3 separate regions of the Homo sapiens genome follow, and all the other regions are linked to region 2. Evidence: promoter capture Hi-C in human tissues and cell types (Jung and others, 2019). All regions are on one chromosome and are shown on one strand. Each heading gives the region's core, a stretch centred on a gene start or on the middle of the fragment in contact. The rest is flanking DNA. Distances are from core to core; before and after follow the strand shown. Region 1 has its middle 60 kb from the start of EXOC6. Region 2 holds the start of IDE (insulin degrading enzyme). Region 3 has its middle 31 kb from the start of EXOC6.

Region 1 (3,091 bases), core at 503-3,002, 210 kb before region 2:
AGTCTCAGCTACTCAAGAGGCTGAGGTGGGAGGATCACTTGAGCCCAGGAAGTCAAGGCTGCAGTAAGCCAAGATCGGGCCACTGCACTCCGGCCTGGGTAACCAGAGTGAGACCCTGCCTCAAAAAAAAAGAAAAAGAAAAAATATTTTTTTGTTTTTTAAAGCAGGGGGCAGATTCTTTTGCAAAGCTGGAGGCCTTAATCAATAAGAAATAAAAATAATTTTAAAAAAACAGAAGAAGAAGAAAAGGAGCCAGATTCTTCAACACCAGGAGACCAAAACGAATAAACCTCCAGAGGGCACCCCCAGCAGTTCAGTCTGGGATGAGGGGACTCGAGGCCGGACAGAGCCGAGCTAGGCACCGTTCTTGGGTTTCCAGCCACCCAGATGCTCAGTTGCTCAAGTGTGACAACTAGGGCCTTCTCAGAAGCAGCCGGTACAGCCTCAAACGCTTCAGCTGGCAGGTGTGAAGGCCTCCAGCTCTTCGAGAGCAGTTTTCTTCCTGACAATGGGTGTCTATCAACTAACAAATAAAATTTGAGATGGACCCTGCAATTGTCCTTCCCATTTTACAAGGGAGGATATGGGTTTGCCTTGACCACTGTCTAGGCTCACACTCCGCAAGTGGCAAGCCCTGAGAAGACACCCCACATGAAGAAAGACAAACACAACCAGCTAACTTCTCCTCTTGCATTTGAAAGAGAACAGCTTTGATCTTAGTTTCATGGTAGGTGGTCAGCTTTCATTGATTTCAACTTTTTTTTTTCTAAGTTTCCCATAAAGGAAAATTTCTCCATCCTCCCCACTACTTCCAGAATACTGGGGGATTTCTCTCAACATAAAAGAATGTTGGAGTCTTTTAATTTCTAAGGGATCATGGCAACCAATTTGAATATTTTTCTCTATAGCACAACAGTCATGTCACAATCTTACCTTTAGAATATGTTTTCATTCTTCCCACTCATCAACTCTTTGACATAGGTACAGAAAATATCTTCATCCTATTTTGCAGATCTGAAAGTAGAGGCCCAAAAAGATCCTGTGTCTGACTTAAACCACACAGCCATGTTACTGAGTGGGGCTGAGATTTAAACTCAGGTCCCTCCAACTTCCATGGCCAAGACCGTAACTACCATGCTCTTAGCCACCATAATCAGGAGCCCTGATTGGGCTTCTTCTCAATCAGTGGGATCAAAACTTGGTGTGAACTAATTCTTAGCAGCAGAGCAACGACTAGAAAACAATTGGCAGGCATCCACAGCTGCACCAGGCCAAAGAGAGTATGTATTTGTCCACAGCCAAGCCAAGGGAATGGAAGAGCCCCAGAGCCAGGCATGGTGGTAGCAGCCAGTTGTACAAAGACCCATGGAACTGGGGCCAAAAGGAGTGAGAATTCCAAAGGAAGTCAAGGGCAGCCATGAGTGAACATGTGCTTTCATTACGCTTCCCTTTCATACTCTCCTAGACCAGATGAACCTGGACCAATGAATGGTTCTTGAGCTTTATAGTAAGATCTCTGAGGAAGGGTTGGGGGTGCTTATTAAAACACAGATTTCTAAGTCCACCTTATTCCTATGAATCAAAATCCCCGAAAGTGAGACCCCAGAAGCTTGTGTAAACAAGCTTCCCAGGGATGCCGACCACACCTGGAGAAGCAAGGACCAGATGGCAGAGGCGGGTCTGCAGGTGTGTGTGGCTTCCTGCAGTAAAGACAGCTCTGCCTGCTCCTGCATTTAGTTAACAAAAGCAGATGAGCAGGAGAAAGTTTCTCATGTGCTGAAACAAGAAAAGAGAAAAGAGTTACTAAAAGACGTGTGAAAGCGACAGGAGCAAATGTCCCAACCTATCCCAGAGAGGGCTTCAGCAGCACGGAGGCACAGGTGTGGTGAGGTCAGAGGGAAGACGCCGCCACCTGGGCATTGTCTACCAAAACCAGGCAGTGCAGGTGACAGGTTCCTTGCTGCAACGGGAAGGGGAAGCAGATGAGAGAACAACAGCAAGGAAGAAGCTTGTAATACGTGTTTTACCTCAGCTGTCATTCTAACTGCTGCACACGCAGGCACACAAAACATTTTTTTAAGTTTTTGTTTGTTTGTTTGTTTTTGAGACAGCCTCACTCTGTCGCCCAGGTTGGAGTGCAGTGGTGCAGTCATGGCTCACTGCAGCCTCTATCTCCCAGACTCAAGCAATCCTCCCACCTCAGCCTCCCGAGTAGCTAGGACCACAAGTGCATGCCACCACGCCTGGCTAATTTTTAAATTACTTGCAGAGACAGGGTCTCCCTATGTTGCCCAGGCTGGTCTCAAACTCCTGGGCTTAAGCGATCCTCCCACCTCAGCCTCCCTAGTAGCTAGGACCATAGGTGCACGCCACCAGGCCTGGCTAATTTTAAATTTTTTTGTAGAGACAAGGCTTCCTGTGTTCCCCAAGCTGGTCTCAAACTCCTGGGCTCAAGCTATCCTCCCAACTCAGCCTCCCAAAGTGCTGGGATTACAGGCTTGAGCCTCTGTACCTGGCTTTAAGTTGTTTTAATAGCAGCAGTGGAAGCCTTCACACACTAGGAAAGAATAATCTGTGTTTGCTGAGATGGGTAGGCTATGGCAAGGCTCAGCCTTAGCCACTGAAAGAAGGCATTTTTCAAAGGCTGACTGGGGACATTAGGAATTATTTTGGAGAATTAACAGGAAGACAGGACTGCACTGATACTTTATATGCCCTCTTACTGTTGTCGTTGTTGTTGTTGTTGTTTTTCAGTCTCCCAATAGATAGAAAGTCCTCTTGTTATAGACTGAATTGTGTTCCCTGAAATTCATAGATTGAAGCCTTAACTCCCAATGTGACTGTATTTGGAGATTGGGCCTTTAAGGAGGTGATTAAGGTACATGAGGCTGAAGGGGTGGGGCCCTAATCCAATAGGATTGAAGTCCTTATAAAAAGAAGAAGAAACATCAGAGAACTGTCTCTCTCCATCCTGGCACAGATGAAAAGCCATTTGAGGACACAGCCAGAAGGCAGCTGTCCGCAAGCCAGGAAAAGAGGCCTCATCAGAAGCCAACCCTGGAGGCGCCTTAATCTTGGACCTCCAGCCTCC
Region 2 (3,125 bases), core at 60-2,559:
TATTTATAATTTGTATTTTATGTCTCAAAGAGGTCCCCCAAATTGTATATGTTTCAAGCCCTCCAAGTCTGAATCTACCCCAGCCCATTTATAGATTCCATTAATGGAGCATAAATGTATTCAGAAAGGCTGCATTAACACTCTCAGAGGAGCTGCTTCAAGGTGATTGACTACTCTGCATTGGGACTGGTAATTTAAAGGTTCTTAAAACCATGCACTTGCAAACACCACTAGGAGGCTTGCCATAATTTTTACCTGTTTTCATCCAAAGGTTTGCCTTTAGGTGAAACCGCACTGTTAAAAAGATCGTGGGTACGTCTTCGATAAAGCATCAACTTGATTAAGGAACCCTCCTACTGAATTCCCATTTAAAGCAATACTTGGACTAAGGACACCGTTTTTGGCTGCAGTCTTGATCGTCTGTCAATCAGAAACCTAAAAGTACTTAAGCTGGCAAGTCACCATCCCTAATAGCATTCTTCCTTAAAGACTCCCATAAGGTATTATGGAAAGTTAGATTCATAACAACTATTAAGTTGTTCGTGGGTGCAAAGCCCCATAAAGCCACTGGGGAGAAAATTCTTTGTTTAAAAAGTAACCACTGAAGCCGACTGACATTAGTAGTATTCCTAGTACGGAGTACTAACAAGAGTAGTAGTTTCTACTCTGGATTTGAAGCCTTGTTTTGCTGCGGCGCCCGTCCCATCCGCACCTTCCTCTTAAGAGAGCTGCTAACTTCCCCAAGGATGGAAACGTCCCCCTGGGTCCTGGCCTCTCTATCGCTGACCCCTGCGTCTGAATTTCCCCCACGCCGCACTCGAGCCTTGTCTCCAGCGCATCTGTGCCTTCGCGGTCCACGTCCCCACCGCGCTCTAGAGGGAGCCCGCGGGCCGCGCGCCGGCCGCGGATTCATTTTACGTGAGGCCGCCGCGACCACGAACCTTGTTCCAACACCTGCAGGGTCCGGCACGCTAGTCAGTGGGGGTGCCTCAGAAAACATAGCCCCGTGTGCCCTCACTGGATTTATGAGCGGCCCCTCGCCCCCTCACAGTCAGACACACGTCGCCACCCTCACAAGTGCGGCCGGTGGGATCTAGCTGGGACCCTCCCCGCCTGGGAAAGTCTGGGTGCTGGCTCCTAAAGCGCCCCGGCCAAACCCCTGTCCCTCCAGTCCGCCTGCTCAGGCCTCGGCTGTCCGCGGTCTTCACCGTCCTCGCCTGCGTCCTGGCCCCATCCGGCTCCAGGCAAAACCCGGAGCAGCTACCTCTCCGCAGCTCCCGGGAGACCGCGCGGCGCCGCGGCTAGAGCATGCGCAGTGCGCAGGGCCGGCTCGAAGCGCAAGCAGGAAGCGTTTGCGGTGATCCCGGCGACTGCGCTGGCTAATGCGGTACCGGCTAGCGTGGCTTCTGCACCCCGCACTGCCCAGCACCTTCCGCTCAGTCCTCGGCGCCCGCCTGCCGCCTCCGGAGCGCCTGTGTGGGTAAGCGGAATGGAGCGCCCGGGCCCTCGGGCCCCGTGGGTCACAGCGGTTTGGCGCTCGGGTTGCAAAGTGGTGATTCAGCACTTAAAGCCGCCACCGCTGCCCCTCACGCCGCCCGTCCCGCCGGCCTGGGGCCCGTACTGCCGCGCTGAGGCCGCCCCAGGGCCCGGAAGAGCGGCTCGCCAGGCGGGAGCCAGAGGCCTGGTCCAGAGTCGGGGACGTCCCTTGGGCTGGTGAGGGGCCGGGGCCGCTACCCGGGGCCACGGGGCGTGTGCCACTAGTGCGGGGGGCGCAGGGGCGGACAGAGTCACCCGGCCTGCACCTGGGAGCCGCGCCGCGTCACTCTCCCGGAGTCCGCCTGTGAGGGGGCCGGGAACCTGAGGCGGACTCGAGCCGTGGGGTAAAGGAATCCGGCGACTTCGGGGGGACCGCTTCTCACCTTGCCCTCAGCCCTGCCCTTTTCTCCGGGCACTGAGTTTCCAGGACCGTGTGGAATGCCCGCGCTGGGAAAAAAGTTTGCCTGCCTCCCGCCTTGGAAGACGAGTGTGGGGTTTCCTATCGGGGGACATTTAGGAGCCAAAAGATACCTCGGGATCCTCTACAGCAGCTCCCTTGTTTTACGTCGGAGACAACCGGAGCTCCGAGAGATGGCTTGATTTCCCAGCAACTGCCGAGATTGTGGCAAAACCAGGATTAGGACACAGGTTTTTTGCCATCCGGCGGCGTGCCCTCTCCACTGCACCGTTGATCTGCGTACGCTAGGCGTTTTCAGGCTTGTAGTGAACGCTGAATACTTTTTACTACGAATGGAAGAAGATAGGCAGTATTATCTTGCCCTCCCTAGAAACGTTATTTGAACCCCTGCTGGTTTTAATCAGTAATAGCCAGCACCTACTAAGTGCAGGGCACTGTGCTGGACCCTCTATGTAAAGTATGTGTCTGCCTTCCAAGGAACTTTGACTTGATTGGAGCGGATTGGGATGCCACGGGAATTGAGATAGCTACAAGGGTGTGTTGATGAGGGTCAGAAGATGGGTAGTATGGGTAGTGTGTGGGGCCAGAGATGGGGGGGTAGGCTGGCTTTGGAAGGAATGGCAGAAAGGTTGGAGTGAGGGCTGGCGTGGGCGTAATCCAGCCTAGATATGCGGGCAGTTTGTGTTGGGGGAGCAGTGAGCCGATTAGTCTGGTTGAAGCTTTATAGAATTTCCTTGGGGTAATTAGAAGGACACAAGTCCTGTATTATAACAGTAGGGTAATGCTGGCCTGGGTCTTGAATTTTAGTTGGGATTTTCCCAATGCGTAGTAGGTAGGGAGCCATTAAAGTTTTTGAGCTGGAAAGTTATCTGATGGAACTGGGGGTTTAGGAAAGTAGTTTGGTGGCTGTGTGCAGGATGTCAGGAAGTGGAGAGAGTCCTAAGGCAGAGAAACCTGTTGGGACTTAGTCTTTACTGCCTGTATTAGGATGGTAGCAGTGGGGCACTAAGATAAGCTAATACAAATGAAGACTCTATGGAACTTGTTCTCCTCTGTTTTCCACTACATCACAAAATCTCCTATAATGTGCAAAAGACCCCTGAACTTAGAGAATCAGGTGGTAAGCACAGGCAGGATGCCTCCTTTTGTCCTCTTTTGTGTCAGTCTGCTT
Region 3 (3,021 bases), core at 238-2,737, 240 kb before region 2:
CCGGCTCTGCAATGAAGTATTTTTTAATTAAGATATGTACATTGGGTTTTTTAGACATAATGCTATTGCACACTTAACAGACTAGAGCCTAGTGTAAACATAATTTTTATATGCACTGAGAAACAAAAAAAAATTGTGTGACTCATTTAATTGTGATATTAGCTTTGTTGCAATGGTCTAGAAGCAAACCTGCAATGTCTCCAAGTTATGCCTGTAATCATTTTGGATTCAAATTCTCTTCAAGACTGGGGCTATGTTTCCACTTTATGCCTTGGAGCCTCTTCTCCCCAACTCCTTTTGAGATTTCTCTCAGTTACTTCTCAGATAAGGGACAATCAGTGTGGGCCCCTGGAGACCAACTAGAAGATACAAGGGCCCTTCAGAAAACACTCTAGCAGGGCCATCGAGGACAGACAGGGTCAGTATGCTCCCTGGAGACTTCTAAAATGTACATGCTTTTTGGCCCTGTCCAGAGGTGCTGAGCCTCTCTTTTAGTTTATGAATGAGAACTTGTGACAAGGGGCTGAAGCCACCTGCCTATGAGACTGGGAGAGGTAAATTGTCAAATCAGAACATCATGTGATTATGACTTCTGTTCATATAAATGATTATCATGCTTCTTGTCTAATTTAACACAAATACATTACCCATAACCTGCCCCAACCCCACCTGCCCCCATAGAAGCCGTGATGAGAAAGCCTCATTTCACATCACAATGTAGCTTTCCTTCCATACCAGGTGATGAACAAAATGGGTCCAGCTATGTGGTCAGGTCTCAGAATCAAGGGAGGCTTCTGTGTAGTGTAGCAGTTATATTCAAAGACTCTAGAGTCAGACTGCTTGGGTTCAAATCCTACCTCTGCTATTTATTAGTGATGTGGCCTTGGGTACTTTTCTATACCCGGAGTTTTCTTCTCTACGTAATAGACAAGCTCCTGTCTCATAAGTTTGTTGGGAGATTAAATTAAGTAATGAAAATAAGGTCTTCAGAATAGTGCCAGGAAAGTAATTAACCCTATAGAAGCGTTAGTATTATGCCATAATGAGGAAAGTTATTATGTACCACTGAAGATAATTATTTTAATTAACTGATTTCTATTTTTTGGTCTGGTGAAAAGGATTGTTCCTCTACATCTTTTCAAATGGACACATGTGGATATTTCTCTGATGTTCAATGATCAGTTTCCAAAAGATAAGTTGCCCATGAAAATGCTAGGTGACCACAATGTTCACCTGTTTATTATAAAGTTATTTCCAATGTACTGTTCTTAAGTTTGTTATGTGCTCATTCATCATTTTACAAAGACTATAGATTTAAGGACCTTCCATGTGCCAAGCCTTTGAGAAGCCAACAGGTCAGTGGAGAAATTTCTTTTTTATTCCAAATTAACTTGTCGGGGGCGTGAGGTCTTGGACTGAGAATGTGCACCCTATACCCAGGGTGGCTTGCACACCTACTGCAAGAATCCATCTCTGGACCTTAGAGTCAGGATCTGAACACAGATCTGCCTAACTCTAGAGCTCAGAACCACTATGTGATAGGCCTCCCTGGCTCATTGGTGCTTCACAATCCAGGACCATCCCTTTTGACCTGACTCCTAGAACTTTCCATCCGGCATGCAACCCAGGAATAACCGCCTATTTGGTCTGCCCAGGCTCCTGGAGCTTATTCATGGGGCGAAGAAAAATGAGCCTTGACTCCTAGGAAAGTAATGCAAATAAAAAGGACTGGATTAAACACTCCTTTAGTGTTTCCTATTCTGCTTCAACATTCCCCAATCATCACTAAAGAAGGACTGTACCATGGATAAAGGGGGAAGCTGCTATTTTCTTGTGGTCTTTATTCATATCCCCCGGCTTCTCATTCTCAGCCTCCTTTCCAAGTTCCTTTTCATCTGTTTGTCTTCTAAATGTAGTTGTTTCCCATGATTCTGTCCTCAACTCTCCCTTCCTCTTACTTTAGGGTCCTGTGTGTTCATCTTCCACTTGTGTGTTGATGAGTCTCAAATCTAGATCTCCAACTGCACTTCTCCCCTAAGCGCCAAACTTCATTTTTAACACCTACATTACATCTCCACCAGAATATCCTATCCCATCATCATGTCCAAAATTGAACTCATTAACTTCCCTCTCCTCCCACTGTAAGTCAATTTCCATGCATCAAACACCCACCTACTAATAATGATAATATCCCCACACAGGTATTCCCAACCTGCTCTTTCTCTCCAGGTCAATCTCTACCTAGCTCTTCTTCATTAGCTCTGACCTGGGTACCTCTGGGCATTTGTAGATGCTGTTCCTTTCATCTGGAATGCACTTCCGTCTGTCTACCTGGTAAACAGATTTCTATATGTTCTTCAAGATTCAACACAGACAGCCCCCTCTTCAAAACCACTCTAGGTCCTGAATGGTACATCTCATAGGACATAATTTGGATAGGACATATATGCTTTATTTCCAATATTAAACTGAATTCTTTGAAGACCACTTTTGGGTGTTATTCACTTCTGTAGTTCTCAGAGCACTTAGTACAGGACCTCCTACAGAAAAGTTTTCAATAAATGTTTGCTGGAATAATTAATCAATGTAGTAAATAATTAATAAAGTAGTCAATAACTCATAAGGTAGTAAAATGGAACCAGTATGCTTGAGTGGTGATTTATTTCTTCCTCCACCCATTCTTTGTCTTCAAATTTCCCATTGCCTACTGTCACTTTTCTGGATTGGTCACCACTCAGAAATTTTGATGTTGTAAATAGTTTATCTTACAAAATTTTTGGAGTTAATTTGGTTTATAAGGCCTGACACAATCTGGCCCCTTACAAGGACAGCTATTGTAGAGTAGAAACTGAGAGAATGACTAATGTGAATTCCTTCATTTCAAACACACTATGATAAAAAGAAAAGTTTCCATTTATACCACATTTTACAGGGTTATGGTTCAATAGGTGATCTGTATGCTTCCTTTTGACTTCCAAACACATGTGTTCCTTTGTTTCTCAGGAAGTAATCATCATGTAG

The links. The method cuts DNA at HindIII sites, captures the fragments that hold promoters and counts their contacts. A contact is called where the count stands out against the background at its distance.
Region 1: a contact is called between a fragment that was not itself captured here and the fragment with the promoter of IDE in region 2, in 2 of the 25 tissues and cell types used here (mesenchymal stem cells and spleen).
Region 3: a fragment that was not itself captured here is called in contact with the fragment with the promoter of IDE in region 2 in 1 of the 25 tissues and cell types used here (spleen).

Annotation. Positions count from the first base shown.
Region 1 is chr10:92,786,534-92,789,624 of GRCh38, reverse strand. No RefSeq gene overlaps it. Among named protein-coding and RNA genes, the nearest start is that of EXOC6, 60 kb to the left of the region's middle. The HindIII fragment of the contact is 4,952 bases long and covers 1-3,091 here.
Region 2 is chr10:92,572,277-92,575,401 of GRCh38, reverse strand. IDE (insulin degrading enzyme) reads left to right here and starts at 1,309. Exons shown (of 25, transcript NM_004969.4): 1 at 1,309-1,480. The coding sequence starts at 1,383. RefSeq lists enhancers at 650-889, 900-959 and a silencer at 1,460-1,909. The HindIII fragment of the contact is 24,485 bases long and covers 1-3,125 here.
Region 3 is chr10:92,816,253-92,819,273 of GRCh38, reverse strand. No RefSeq gene overlaps it. Among named protein-coding and RNA genes, the nearest start is that of EXOC6, 31 kb to the left of the region's middle. The HindIII fragment of the contact is 4,911 bases long and covers 1-3,021 here.